Regions from separate parts of the Homo sapiens genome. Here regions 1 and 2 are each linked to region 3. The links are contacts of gene promoters, found by promoter capture Hi-C in blood cells and fetal thymus (Javierre and others, 2016). All regions are on one chromosome and are shown on one strand. Each heading gives the region's core, a stretch centred on a gene start or on the middle of the fragment in contact. The rest is flanking DNA. Distances are from core to core; before and after follow the strand shown. Region 1 overlaps SH2D4B (SH2 domain containing 4B). Region 2 overlaps SH2D4B (SH2 domain containing 4B). Region 3 holds the start of PRXL2A (peroxiredoxin like 2A).

Region 1 (4,156 bases), core at 20-2,519, 140 kb before region 3:
GCACCTGTAATCCCAGCTACTCGGGAGGCTGAAGCAGGAGAATCACTTGAATCCGGGAGGCAGAGGTTGCAGTGAGCCAAGATCGTGCCATTGTACTCCAGCCTGGGCAGCAAGAGCAAAACTCCGTCTCAAAGAAAGAAAGAGAGAGAGAGCAAGAGAGAGAGAGAGAGAGAAAGAAAGAGAGAGAGGGGGAGAAAGAAATGCCTAAAGCCTAGGGTTATGTAATTCTAACACGACATGGGGTAAATACACATGAAAATGAACCCAAAGAATTTAGACCCCAACATCTAAGGCAAAATCTGTTTCCAAATGGGAAAACCATAGGAAGCTTTGCTGATTCTTAGGTGAGAAAAACCTGGAAAGCAGTAATGCTAGCCACTCGGAGAGATAGCAGAGGGACAGGTAGATGCCTACAACCTGCTACTTCCACCCAGCTCCTCTGAGCTGGAGTGAGAGCTGGGATTGGGTTACAGGGAGTGCCGAGATAAGCAGCTGGTGGCCTTTCTCACGAGCTGCCCCTGCTGTCCTCCAGGCTGGAAGTGGAAGCAGGGAGGTGCAGAGATGGGGAAGCAGGGAGGGGACAGCGTTAGCATCCTGAAATGAGGGGACAGAAAAGAATCCCAGGGGAGAGACAGGAAGCTAGGGCAGCTCAGGTCAGCATCCACCAGCTGGAGTCCTGAAGTAGCGCAGGAGAGGCACCTCCCTCCATGCAAAGTGGAGCAAAAGTCAGTCCTGTTCAAACAGTCCCTGGGCTTTTGGCAGCAGCTGGGAGAAGGGAAGGAAAGGGAAACTGCACCGAAACTCAGGCTCCCTGCTGGTCCACTGATCACTGACCAGCTGTGTGACCCTGGGCATGAGCCTCTGTTCTCTAACAATGGTCTGAAATTCTGAATGTTTGTGTACCCCTGCAATTCATACATTGAAACCCTAGTCCCAGTGTAATGGTATTAGGAGGTATGGCCTTTGGAAGGTAATTAGGGCAAGAGGTAATTAGGTCAACAAAATGGAACTTTCATGAATGGGATTAGTGCCTTTATAAGAAGAGGCCAGAGAGCTAGCACACTTTCTTTCCACCATGTAAGGATACAGAAGTCAGCCATTGGCATCCAGGAAGAGGGCTCTCATCAGACCCCTGACCATGCTGGCTCCCTGACCTCAGACATCCAGAGTCCAGGGCTGTGAGAAATGTTTGTTGTTTAAACTACTCAGTGTGTGATAATTTCTTATAGCAGCCTGGACTAAGACACCACCACCCCATCCCCATCTGCCCAAGCTCTTCGGGAACCTGCAGAAGCATTGGAAAGGGACAGGCACTCAGTCCCGCTGTGTGTCTCACTCTTTGTAGTGTGGGAGAGAATCTCTTTCCCTGGGTCCTCATTAACATGGCTACTCTTAGACTCTCCTAACTCTTGCTAATCTGATTGCTTTAATTTGAGTGGAAGTGGTTTATTAGTGAAGTTGAATGTATTTTCGCATCTTCATTGTGATTTGAAATTTCCCTCCTGCAATTGCTTGTTCATTTTTTTTCCTTCATTTTTCTATTGGTTGTTTGTCTTTTGCTAGTTGATTTGGAGCACTTCATTATATTTTCTGGATACTAATCCTTTGCCTGTTATATATGTTGCAAATATTTTTCTATTTAAATCCAGTTTCATTCTTTTTTTAAGTTTGGCATCTTTTATTAAGATTTTTAAAAATCAAGTTATGTTGGCCAGGCGCGGTGGCTCACATCTGTAATCCCAGCACTTTGGGAGGCCGAGGCAGGCAGATCACGAGGTCAGGAGATCGAGACCATCCTGGCTAACATGGTGAAACCCCATCTCTACTAAAAATACAAAAAATATTAGCCGGGCATGGTGGAGGGTGCCTGTAGTCCCAGCTACTCAGGAGGCTGAGGCAGGAGAATGGCGTGAGCCCGGGAGGTAGAGCTTGCAGTGAGCCGAAATCGCGCCACTACACTCCAGCCTGGGCAACAGAGTGAGACTCCGTCTCAAAAAAAATAAAATAAAATAAAAATCAAGTCATGTTTCTTTTTCTTTTTCTTTTCCTTGTTGTGCTTTATTCTAAGAAAGGCTTCACTCTCCCCCAACAGAGTCTCATATTTTCTTTTATTACTTTGATAATTTTGTTTCTCCTTTTTTTGTGTTGATCTTTAACCACCTGCAATATATGTTTTTCATCATGGCAGAAACAGTGTGGAGGAAGCTTCCTATGTTGTGGCAGGAAGAACAGGCCTAGGATCAGATTCTAATTCCAACTCCTACTTGTTTTTTAGAGCAGGTTGCTAAACCTCTCTGAGATTCCACTTGCTCAACTAAAATGGAAATAATACCTTATTCATTGATTCAAAGACACCTATTTTAACATTTCTTCAATCAGGATGTACTTACAACCATTGATGTATCATAGTTTAATTTACAGCTTTCTTAGTAGGACATAAAATAATGATGTGTCTTTCTCTTTTTTTTTGAGACGGAATCTCACTCTGTCACCCAGGCCGGAGTGCAGTGGCGCGATATGGGCTCACTGCAAGCTCCACCTCCTGGGTTCACGCCATTCTCCTGCCTCAGCCTCCCGAGTAGCTGGGACTATAGGCGCCTGCCACCATGCCCGGCTAGTTTTTTTGTACTTTTAGTAGAGATGGGGTTTCACCATGTTAGCCAGGATGGTCTCGATCTCCTGACCTCGTGATCCGCCCACCTCAGCCTCCCAAAGTGCTGGGATTACAGGTGTGAGCCACTGTGCCCAGCCAATGATGTGTCTTTCAATCAAGCACTCTTAGATTTTATGAAATGCATAGGGGTGCATCTTCCAGGTCACTGAGGGGTCAGATAAGCTGAGGCCCTTAAAGGGCCTAGCACAGGCCTGACAGGCCCTCCATCTGGAGGAGTTCTCCTTCATAGTATAGAATGCAGCTGCCTTTACTTCTTGCTCTGCCATCCGACCCATCCTCCTTAGCTTCCAGGGACCCCTTTCCCCCACCCCCCGCTCCCCACCAAAAGCCCTTAGCTGACTAAGGCTGCAAGTTCTTTCCTTGTGGACACAGATTATTCAAAGCTGACAATTAATTATTAATTGTTAATTAATTAAATTAATTAAATATTAATCTTTCTCCACAGCCACAGAAACCACCCTCACCCCTGGGGATGCCCATGCCTGCCAGGTACCAAGTGCCATCAGCACCGGTGACTGTGGGTGACCCCATGCCTGCTCACAGCAGCCTCTGCTCTGGCTCCTCTCACTGCCCACCTGGTAAGTCGAGGTTGTGCAGCTTCGGAAAGCACTGGTGCTAAAGATGGGGAGCAGTGGGCCCTGGTGGCCTTTGCAAGTGGAGCTGCCTCACTAAGAACCTCACTGCTGGGCCTGAGGAAGGCAGGAAGGAAACAAGAGCAAGGTGGCAGGCTGCAAAGGAACCAGAAGCCCTCGGCAGGTGCTGTGCACGCCGGGTGGACTTCAGGCACTTTGCACATGGCTCACTTAATCCCCACAACCTCCCCTGGAGGGAGGTGGTTTCAGTAAAGACCGTGCCCATTACAGATGAAGGGTCTGAGCTCCAGGGGAGATGCTGAGACTACACCCCTGAGGAGCTCACTCATCTGCACAGCTGTCTCACCTTTCTGGCTGCTGTATGGAGGCAGAACAGGAGGCTGGGAGCCAGAAAGTGAGGCCCCATCAATGTCAAGGCCACAAACCTGGGCGAAGCACCCACTGCACGGCAGGGCCATACCGGATCTCAAGGTCCAGGCAGATGGAACAGAAAGGTCTGGCCCCAGCTCTCTCTCCATGCCCCAAACGCCAGCAGAACACATGCCAAACTCACACACACACACACACACACACACACACACACACACACACAATCAAGTCCCATCACAGCTCTCGGAGATCCCTAGCCTTTGTTCCACTGCCTGGCTCAGGAGGGAGCCCTATGTTTAGCCACACAATCACAATCAGGGAGTCCCAGGCCACAGGCTGTGCCGACAGTTACCAGCAGATCACAGCAATTCTCTGTGTGCTCTTCCTGCACCCACCATGATGCCTCATCTTTACATCATTCATCTGAAAAGCTTATCAGCATCCCAAGAATCAAGAGTGACCCTTCATTGGAAAAACTGAATTTCCTCCAATATATCCTAAAAAGTAAAAGTAAATGTGT
Region 2 (4,598 bases), core at 1,774-4,273, 230 kb before region 3:
TCAATGCCATCCCCATCAAACTACCAATGACTTTCTTCACAGAATTGGAAAAAACCACTTTAAAGTTCATATGGAACCAAAAAAGAGCCTGCATTGCCAAGACAATCCTAAGCAAAAGAACAAAGCTGGAGGCATCACACTACCTGACTTCAAACTATACAACAAGGCTACAGTAACCAAAACAGCATGGTACTGGTACCAAAACAGAGATATAGACCAATGGAACAGAACAGAGGCCTCAGAAATAACACCACATATCTACAACCATCTGATCTTTGACAAACCTGACAAAAACAAGAAATGGGGAAAAGATTCCCTATTTAATAAATGGTGCTGGGAAAACTGGTTAGCCATAAGTAGAAAGCTGAAACTGGATCCCTTCCTTATACCTTATACAAAAATTAATTCAAGATGGATTAAAGACTTAAACATTAGACCTAAAACCATAAAAACCCTAGAAGAAAACCTAGGCAATACCATTCAGGACATAGGCATGGGCAAGGACTTCATGACTAAAACAACAAAAGCAATGGCAACAAAAGCCAAAATAGAAAAATGGGATCTATCGAACTAAAGAGCTTCTGCACAGCAAAAGAAACTACCATCAGAGTGAACAGGCAAGGGAGAAAATTTTTGCAATCTACCCATCTGACAAAGGGCTAATATCCAGAATCTACAGAGAACTTAAACAAATTTACAAGAAAAAAAACAAACAATCCCATCAAAAATTGGGCAAAGGATATGAACAGACATTTCTCAAAAGAAGACATCTATGCAGCCAACAGACACATGAAAAAATGCTCATCATCACTGGTCATCAGAGAAATGCAAATCAAAACCACAATGAGATACCATCTCATGCCAGTTAGAATGGTGATCATTAAAAAGTCATGAAACAACAGATGCTGGAGAGGATGTGGAGAAATAGGAACACTTTTACACTGTTGGTGGGACTGTAAACTAGTTCAACCTTTGTTGAAAACAGTGTGGCGATTCCTCAGGGATCTAGAACTAGAAATACCATTTGACCCAGCGATCCCATTACTGAGTATATACCCAAAGGATGATAAATCATGCTACTATAAAGACACATGCACACGTATGTTTATTGCAGCACTATTCACAATAGCAAAGACTTGGAACCAACCAGAATGTCCATCAATGATAGACTAGATTAAGAAAATGTGGCACATACACACCATGGAATACTATGCAGCCATAAAAAAGGATGAGTTCCTGTCCTTTGCAGGGACATGGATGAAGCTGGAAACCATCATTCTCGCAAACTATCACAAGGACAGAAAACCAAACACCGCATGTTCTCACTCATAGGTGGGAAGTGAACAATGAGAACACTTGGACACAGGGCAGGGAACATCAGACACTGGGGCCTGTTGTGCGGTTGGGGGAAGGGGGAGTGATAGCATTAGGAGAAATACCTAACGTAAATGACGAGTTAATGGGTGCAGCAAACTAACATGGCACATGTATACCTGTGTAACAAACCTGCAGGTTGTGCACATGTACCCTAGAACCTAAAGTATAATTTAAAAAATGAACAAAATAAATAAATAAAAAGATGCCTCCCTCACAGATCTATTGGTAAGATTAAATAAGAGCATGGATGTAGAGCAATAGGTTCAGTGCTTGACACAGAGAATGTGTCAATGTCCTCACATCCCCTCCCTTTCGCTTTCCTCTGTTAGAAGGCTCTTTCCAACACGTAGAAATCAACCTTGATCCTGGTTAGTCCAGTTTCCAGGCAGTACTCCACACTCAGTGCCCGAGTATCTGTGAATAGGTGATTCTCCATGTGTATTATTCATAAGGTCAAGGGCTGTCCCTGAATTTCTAGGGACTTCCATGAAGAGACAAAGAGAAAGCAATACAAACCTAAGAGTCCCTATTATACCAAAACCCCAGTGAGACCGTCAAGTCATTCTGTGAAACCATCTACACCCACAAAGCTTGGTTAGATGTCGGACGCCGGAGCTACCACCACTCTGCCCCTCGGAATCCTTCGTCCTGCCCTTCCAGGTCACTGAGTTCCACCTCTGGCTTTCTCCCAGTTACTAATGATGCCAACGGCCACACGAACATAAACGTTGCTTCTTACTACATACACTGCTTGGAAGACAACATCTTTTCCAATATAGGGTCCATGGCAGGAGGACAAATAACAAAAAGAATGCTGAGAAACAAGACTTTCCATAAGCACTTCACAGTCACAAAGCGCTGCTCTGTACTTGACTTCATTTAATGCTCACAGGGTCCGAGCTAAGTATTATTCACATCCATTTGCCTGGCTAGGACGCTGACGTTTGGTGAGACTAAGGTGCTGGCTCAAGGTCACACATGTACTAAGTGGTTAAGCTGGAGTTCAAATAAGAGACATGGTAACTCCACCACTAGAAAAGCTTCTCTAATCACAGGGTTGCCTACTGCACTTCAGCTAACTCTCAGAAGCTGCTAGAGGTCTGGCTTGGAGGTCCTCATGAGAGACGTTCTTGGGAATGAGTTGGAGATGAGACCCAGGCTTGGAGAAAGGGATGATCATCCAGTCCTTGTGTTAACAGGAGGGAGCACTCAGGTACCCAAGGTGAGAAGAGGCCTGAGGACCAGGGTGAGAGGTGCCCGCATGCCCCAGAGAGTGAAGCAGAGAGCAGAACAGTGGGCCCTCGGGCCCCGTGTGGACAACCTCTGGTCTCTTCTGCCCTGATGCTCTACATCTCTGAGACCCTCCAGCCCCACTGCCCAGAGCCAGCAGCCTTGCTTCTCTTGCTCTAGCTCTCTCTTCAGCTCCAATTTCCACCAGTTCCCCCTCCCCCCCATTAGTATCCCTGTGAGGGATACCTTATGGAAATCAACGAGATCCGTGAGCGTTGCATGGCGATTGGGGTCCACTCCCAGGAAGCTGTAAAAATCCCCAGAAGCATCCACAAGAAAGTGTTTGAACCCTTTCTGCAGGCGGTAGGAGAGGGTGTAACCCCAGATTTTCTCACTGACCCGGACCAGGAATGCTCCCTCAGTCATGTTCTCCAGGAGAGCTTCTGCATCTTCTCGGCTAATAATTCCTGATTTAAAATAGAAAAAAACAAAAAAACACAGCAGGTTCTGCGACTGCCTCCCCCACGATTCTCCACTCCTCCCTGCCCCTCACCCTGTGGCTCAGTGCACATGCCATCCACACAGTCCAGGGTGGCAGGAAGGAAAGAGCCCCAAGGGCTGGCCAAGCACATGCCTCCTTCCACAGAGAGGGCATCTTGGCCCAGCGCCACCCGCCGTGAGCCTGGGGGCAGAGTTTCTACTAGGACGTGAGTTGAGCATGCTTTCCTCCACATTGAGCCAGGGTGATTTGGATTAATTGGGTAAGCAAGGAATTAGTAGTGAGCTGTGATTATAGCATTATTGATTATAAATATAAGTCAACAGGCTTGTGAAAAGCCTTAAGAGGCCTGCTTTAAAGACTAGTCCAGAATGGCTGCTGATGACTAACTCACTTATTTCTCTAGTACCATAAATAAGCACCTAAAAATAGGGGTTTCCCTTAAAAAGTAAAAAGACTTCTTCCAAATACCTGTGGACACCAGGCAAAAAGTTTCTTAATAGGGGCATAGAATCAAGCTTCACTTCAGCTCAGAGATCAAAACTTTCTAAGGACTTGCACTCCTACACAATGCAGTTTCATCACAATTTGGAATTCTGGTTGGCCTTGGAGTCGTTGATATGCTGGTAGCAATCCCCTGAAATGCTCTCAGGAAGCCGCTGTCATCTGGGTGATATAGGAGGCGTGATGTAGAACAGGTTCCAGAGGCAAGTAGGTGGGAAGAGGAGGGGAAGCCAGAAGACCTGGATTACCCCCACCCCCGACCTCTGCCAACCTGGCTATGGAATTTCCAGCCAAGCCCTCAAGGTCTCCAGTGTCCTTTGACATTTAGATGATCATAACCCAAATACTTAGAAGGTATGTTATGACTTTCAAGTTGAATAAAGTATTCAAACTCATTTCATACATAGAGAATAGCTGTGGAGATGCTGGATCCTGTTAGCATCTGTTATTCTGGAGGAGAGGTGAATTGCAACACATTGTCCCTTTGCTCACCCATGGACTTACCCTTTCCACACTATCAGTGACAGGCATGGGGACAGAGTGGCTGGGCTGCCCATCTCCATGACCCTGAGAGGCTCAGCACACCTGTGACTTCTCCCCAATCCCCGAAGCCACTCCCGAGCGAGCCGCAGTCAGGCTCCCCTCCCATCACTCTCCTGCCTCCCAGGGCACACTCGAGACTTCCCTTGTGCCCAAGGCATAGGACACAGAGGCAACCACACTGCCAAATGCTGCACCCTTTAAAGACAATTGGCGCAACCAGGGGCCACCTATTTCCTCCTTGCCCAGGATTTACAGCAAGAGGCATCCAAGCCAGCCACCCCTCCCCAGCCAAGCTCTACAAGCAGAAAAGGAAGAAGAGTAAGACAAGGAAGGAAGTGAGGAGCCCTTTCGCCACAGGACACCTGAAAAATAAACACTGGCCCATGCAAGAGGGAGGATGCACCCCGCTGCTTCCCCCCAGAAGGCCTTGGGGGCTTCATGCAAA
Region 3 (4,139 bases), core at 710-3,209:
TCTGAAGCAGGACAGGCACAAAATAGTGAACTTCTGCAGCTGTGTCACTGCAGGCCTGCTTTCTGGTGAACGTTCTAGGTCTGGTGGGAACACTGGCTTGTCTCAGCCCCTCTGGCCTGCAGGCCCGCTCCATGCTATTCCTGTAGCAGCTAACACTGCCTCCTGCACTAGCAGTGCCAGAGAAGGCAAAGGACACTGCCCAGCTGTAATTTCCCTGTGCCAGAGGCCACTGAGCTCAAAGGTGAGGCTGGCTCTCTGCACAGAACCTCAGGATGGTTCTTGCCACACAAGCCACAGCAGAGAGACTTGGAGCTTCTGCTCAACATTTCACAAAGAAGCAAGAACCCAACTGGCAGGACAGCTGCCCTATTGCTTAGATAGGGACAGAGCCTGGGGCTTGAGCCCTAGAGTTCCAGTCCTATCCAAACTTTCTGAGCACCATTTAAATGACACGAGATGAGAAAATCATCAGAAATGTCTTTTGTACCCCTTCAGAAGTAATGCAGAAGGTCTCAACTAAATGACATGCTCTTATAAAAGACGGGGATATAGGAAAGGCCCACACCAAGAATAATATCTAACTTTAATTCTTGCAAGCTGTATAAACCTGGACAAGGAACTGTTTTGCATCAGTAAAATGGGAATGCTTCCTTAATTACCTTCTACAGAGTTGCAAGAATCAAAGGATTAAATGTATAGGAGGTGCCTTGTGAGGTACCTTACAAAAAGTGCAATAAATACGATGTATAATTCTTCATTTCTAGAGCAATGATTACCCTCAAAACGTTATTTGTACACAAAATGAAGAGTTTTCTGATGAATGAGTATGGTAACGAGTCGGGGTCTGCAGTGGAAATCCCAATCCTCATTCTCCAAAGCTGGGCCCGAGCAGGAGCATTCAAGACTATTCAAGCTGACTTTTTCACAATGCTTTTCAAAACAAATCTTGATTATTTTCTTTTTGAAAAACCACCTGCCAGGTTCAAAGGAAAATACATTAAAATAAAACAAACAAAAAAGCTGAGTTCTGGGTTGCTGGGCTGTGCAGACAGCATGATGTGGCAAGGAAAAGAGGCGCAGGAGCAGCTGGGAACCCCGGTCCGGCAGTGGACTCCCGGGTGTGCCTCCTTCCCACAGCCCTGGACCGGCTGGGCCTTGACTTCCCTTCCTTTGCCTCTAACCATCTCCACCTGCGCCTTCACCTCCCGCTCCAGCAACAACCCTGGGGGCAGATTGTTCATCTTTTCATTCCTAGACCTCAGCAGGGCTGTTAAGTTTACAACTGGGCTCTACCCAATTTAAAGTCAGGCGTTTGTGACTCTTGGGAAAGAGGGGGAACAGGTGCCTCCGAAACGCTGAACAACGCTAGAAACCGTGCCCTCTTAAAAGACACGACCCTAAGCGGGCACAGAGACGAGGACGAGGACTGCCAGGTCCGCACCTGGGGCTGGTCCAGCAGGGCGGCCCCCGGGCCCATGCTCCAGGGCAGGGCCCTCTCCTCTGTTCTTTGTCCCAACAATTCGCGAAGGTTGGCGCCACCGGCGTCACTCAAGGCTTGCGGGCGTGGACAGAGGGGGCCCTAGCCCGCCGCAGCAGCGCCGGGTCCCCGTCTCCGTTCTCCGACGTCTGGGCGCAGGGTTTTTCCATCGGCCGCCACGCAGGGTGGCGGAAGGGTCGTCGTCCTCGGAGGGAGCGCCAGCGCTGCGGCGGCTCCTAAGAAAGTTGGCGCGGGCCCGAGGGGCGCGCCTCACCAGCCCAGCACCCACCCTACCGGCCCTGCACTGCCTCAGTTTCCCCACCTACGCCGCGGCAGGCCCCGCCTACGGACATCACGTGCCTCGCGGAGCCCCGGCGCGCAGCACCTACCTCAAGTGCCTCCCTTCTGCCGGCCTTTTACCGCCCCGACGCCCGGGCGCTAAGGGGCCAAACCGCCCGGCCCGGAGGGTCCCAGGGGCGGGCCCCGCGCTTGCGCAGCCTCTAGCCTGTGCTGCATCGCGCGCTACCGCGCCACCGCCATGTGACCCGCCCCGCCCCCCGTGGGAGGAGCTCCGGGCCTGCCCCCGACTCGCCGACCTCCGGGCCGCGGTCTCCTAGCTCCGGTGGCGCTCGGGCGTGTGCCCCAGCGGTCCTTTTACGCACAGCGCTCGGTCGGTCCACTCCTCAAGTCCGCGAACCGAGGCCCCGACGCGTTCTTCAGGGCGCTGCCTAGGGCAAAAGAAGGCGCTGGACACCCCTAATGGAGCCTGGAAGCACCTGTCCTGCAGCCGAGGCTGGCCAACTTCCTTCCAATCTTCAGCCTGGTTTTGAATAGCTCTTTTGATAGGTTTTTTTTTTTTTTTTAACCTCCATGGGCAGGGGGAATCTAAAGGACCGACACATTCGATGAGCCCCTTCAAGCTGTATGTACAGATTCAGAATTTCCAACCTCAATCCTCCACCCACGTTCCCTTTCACTCCACAATGCCAGCTATGGGGCAGAGAACGGTGAGCCGCAGCCTTGCGGACTCCGGGCGACGCTGAGGCGGGTGTGTCACACACCGCTCATCCACTTACTCCTCCTGTTGGAAGTGCCCACTCTTTCATGAAAGTAGGAGGTTGTGTCCGGCGCGCTGGCTCACGCCTGTAATCTCAGGGCTTTGGGAGGATCGCTTGAGCCCAGGAGTTCAAGACCAGTCTGGGCACCATAGTAAGACTCCATCTCTACGTAAAAAACAAAAACTAGCCAGGCATAGTGGCGCGTGCCTGTATTTCCAGCTACTCTGGAGCTGAGGTGGGAGGATCGCTTGAACCCGGGAGGCGGAGGTTGCAGTGAGCCCAGATCGCGCCACTGCACTCCAGCCTGTCTTTAAAAAACAAAAAAAAGACCCTGTCTTAACAACAAAAAACAAAAAGTAGGAGGTTGGACTTTCAGAGACAGCAGAGCTGACTCACGATACATATTAGTGGTTGGCCGGGCTCGGTGTCTCATGCCTGTAATCCCAACACTTTGGGAAGCCAAGGCGGGCAGATCACTTGAGGGCAGGAGTTCGAGACCAGCCTGACCAACATGGCAAAACCTCGTCTCTACTAAAAATACAAAAATTAGCCGGGTGTGGTGGCGCGCACCCGTAGTCCCAGCTACTCAAGAGGCTGAGGCAGGAGAATAGCTTGAACCCCGGAGGTGGAGGTTGCAGTGAGCCGAGATGGTGCCACTACACTCCAGCCTGGGTGACAGAGTGAGATTCCGTCTCAAAAAAAAAAAAAAAAGACATATCGGTGACACAGTGCAAAGACCAGTCACAGGGCAGCATAAGGTGAAGTGGCAAAGCAGGCCGATGTCCGCCCGTCAAAGGTGGTCATTTGCCTGCAACACCTTCCCCCCTTCATCTGGGAGCTGCCCACAGGTGTACAAAGTCCAAAGGCTTCCGTGATTCACCTCCCTGACTTCCCACTCAGACTCCATGTTCCATGTAAACTTACAGCAACACTTGGGGAGCTTGATCTATTCAAGGGGGTCTCTCCTCAACCAAACTGTGAATTCCTCCACTTCACCTCTGGGACCCTAGAGCCTGGCCCAGGGACAGCGTGGAAATAAACTTAGAAAACGTGAGAGGTGGATCTAAGTTGTGGGGTAAGGGAGATCAGCCTGAGTGCCCATGCAGTTTTCCTGCAGGAGTTAGGCATATGATTTGAAGGCCAGAAAATATTTCGTATACTTTGGTGCAATGCGGGTGTAGTTTTATATATATATATATATATATATATATATATATGATATATAAGATATATATAAGATATATATGAGATATATAAGATATATATGATATATGTATAAGATATGTATGATACATATATCTCTCTCCAGAGGACCTTTCTTTCTTCTCCCTTGTTTCTCCTTACCTTGTGAAGAGGAGCGGGAGAAGGGTCAATCTTTCCATCCCAAAATAGGAAGTTCAAAGGTGAGGAGGGTTTGCAGGGAAGGCCACTTAGAACAAAACAGGAAGTCATTTCCTTGGGAAATGAGTTCTTGGAGACTGACCATTAATGACAGAGCCATTCAGGGGTTGAGGATAGCAGAATTCTGGGGTGGAAGGTCCCCTGAGGCTTTAACTGTGATGTAATTACTAATCACGTGCAAAAGTCATGCTTATATTTACACT

Evidence for each region. The method cuts DNA at HindIII sites, captures the fragments that hold promoters and counts their contacts. A CHiCAGO score of 5 or more calls a contact.
Region 1: a contact is called between a fragment that was not itself captured here and the fragment with the promoter of PRXL2A in region 3, in 1 of 17 cell types (monocytes). The highest score is 5.0, in monocytes.
Region 2: a fragment that was not itself captured here is called in contact with the fragment with the promoter of PRXL2A in region 3 in 1 of 17 cell types (M1 macrophages); the score reaches 5.4 in M1 macrophages.

The regions. Positions count from the first base shown.
Region 1 is chr10:80,548,907-80,553,062 of GRCh38, reverse strand. All of the region lies in intron 1 of SH2D4B (SH2 domain containing 4B), which reads right to left. Among named protein-coding and RNA genes, the nearest start is that of SH2D4B, 13 kb to the right of the region's middle. The HindIII fragment of the contact is 1,877 bases long and covers 331-2,207 here.
Region 2 is chr10:80,632,761-80,637,358 of GRCh38, reverse strand. It overlaps SH2D4B (SH2 domain containing 4B), which reads right to left. Exons shown (of 8, transcript NM_001388272.1): 7 at 2,854-3,074. All of the region lies in intron 1 of LOC105378387 (a long non-coding RNA gene), which reads left to right. Among named protein-coding and RNA genes, the nearest start is that of LINC02655, 15 kb to the left of the region's middle. The HindIII fragment of the contact is 1,207 bases long and covers 2,420-3,626 here.
Region 3 is chr10:80,406,371-80,410,509 of GRCh38, reverse strand. It overlaps PRXL2A (peroxiredoxin like 2A), which reads right to left and starts at 1,959. Exons shown (of 6, transcript NM_032333.5): 1 at 1,867-1,959. RefSeq lists enhancers at 1-165, 1,012-1,605 and a silencer at 1,891-2,180. The HindIII fragment of the contact is 7,614 bases long and covers 1-4,139 here.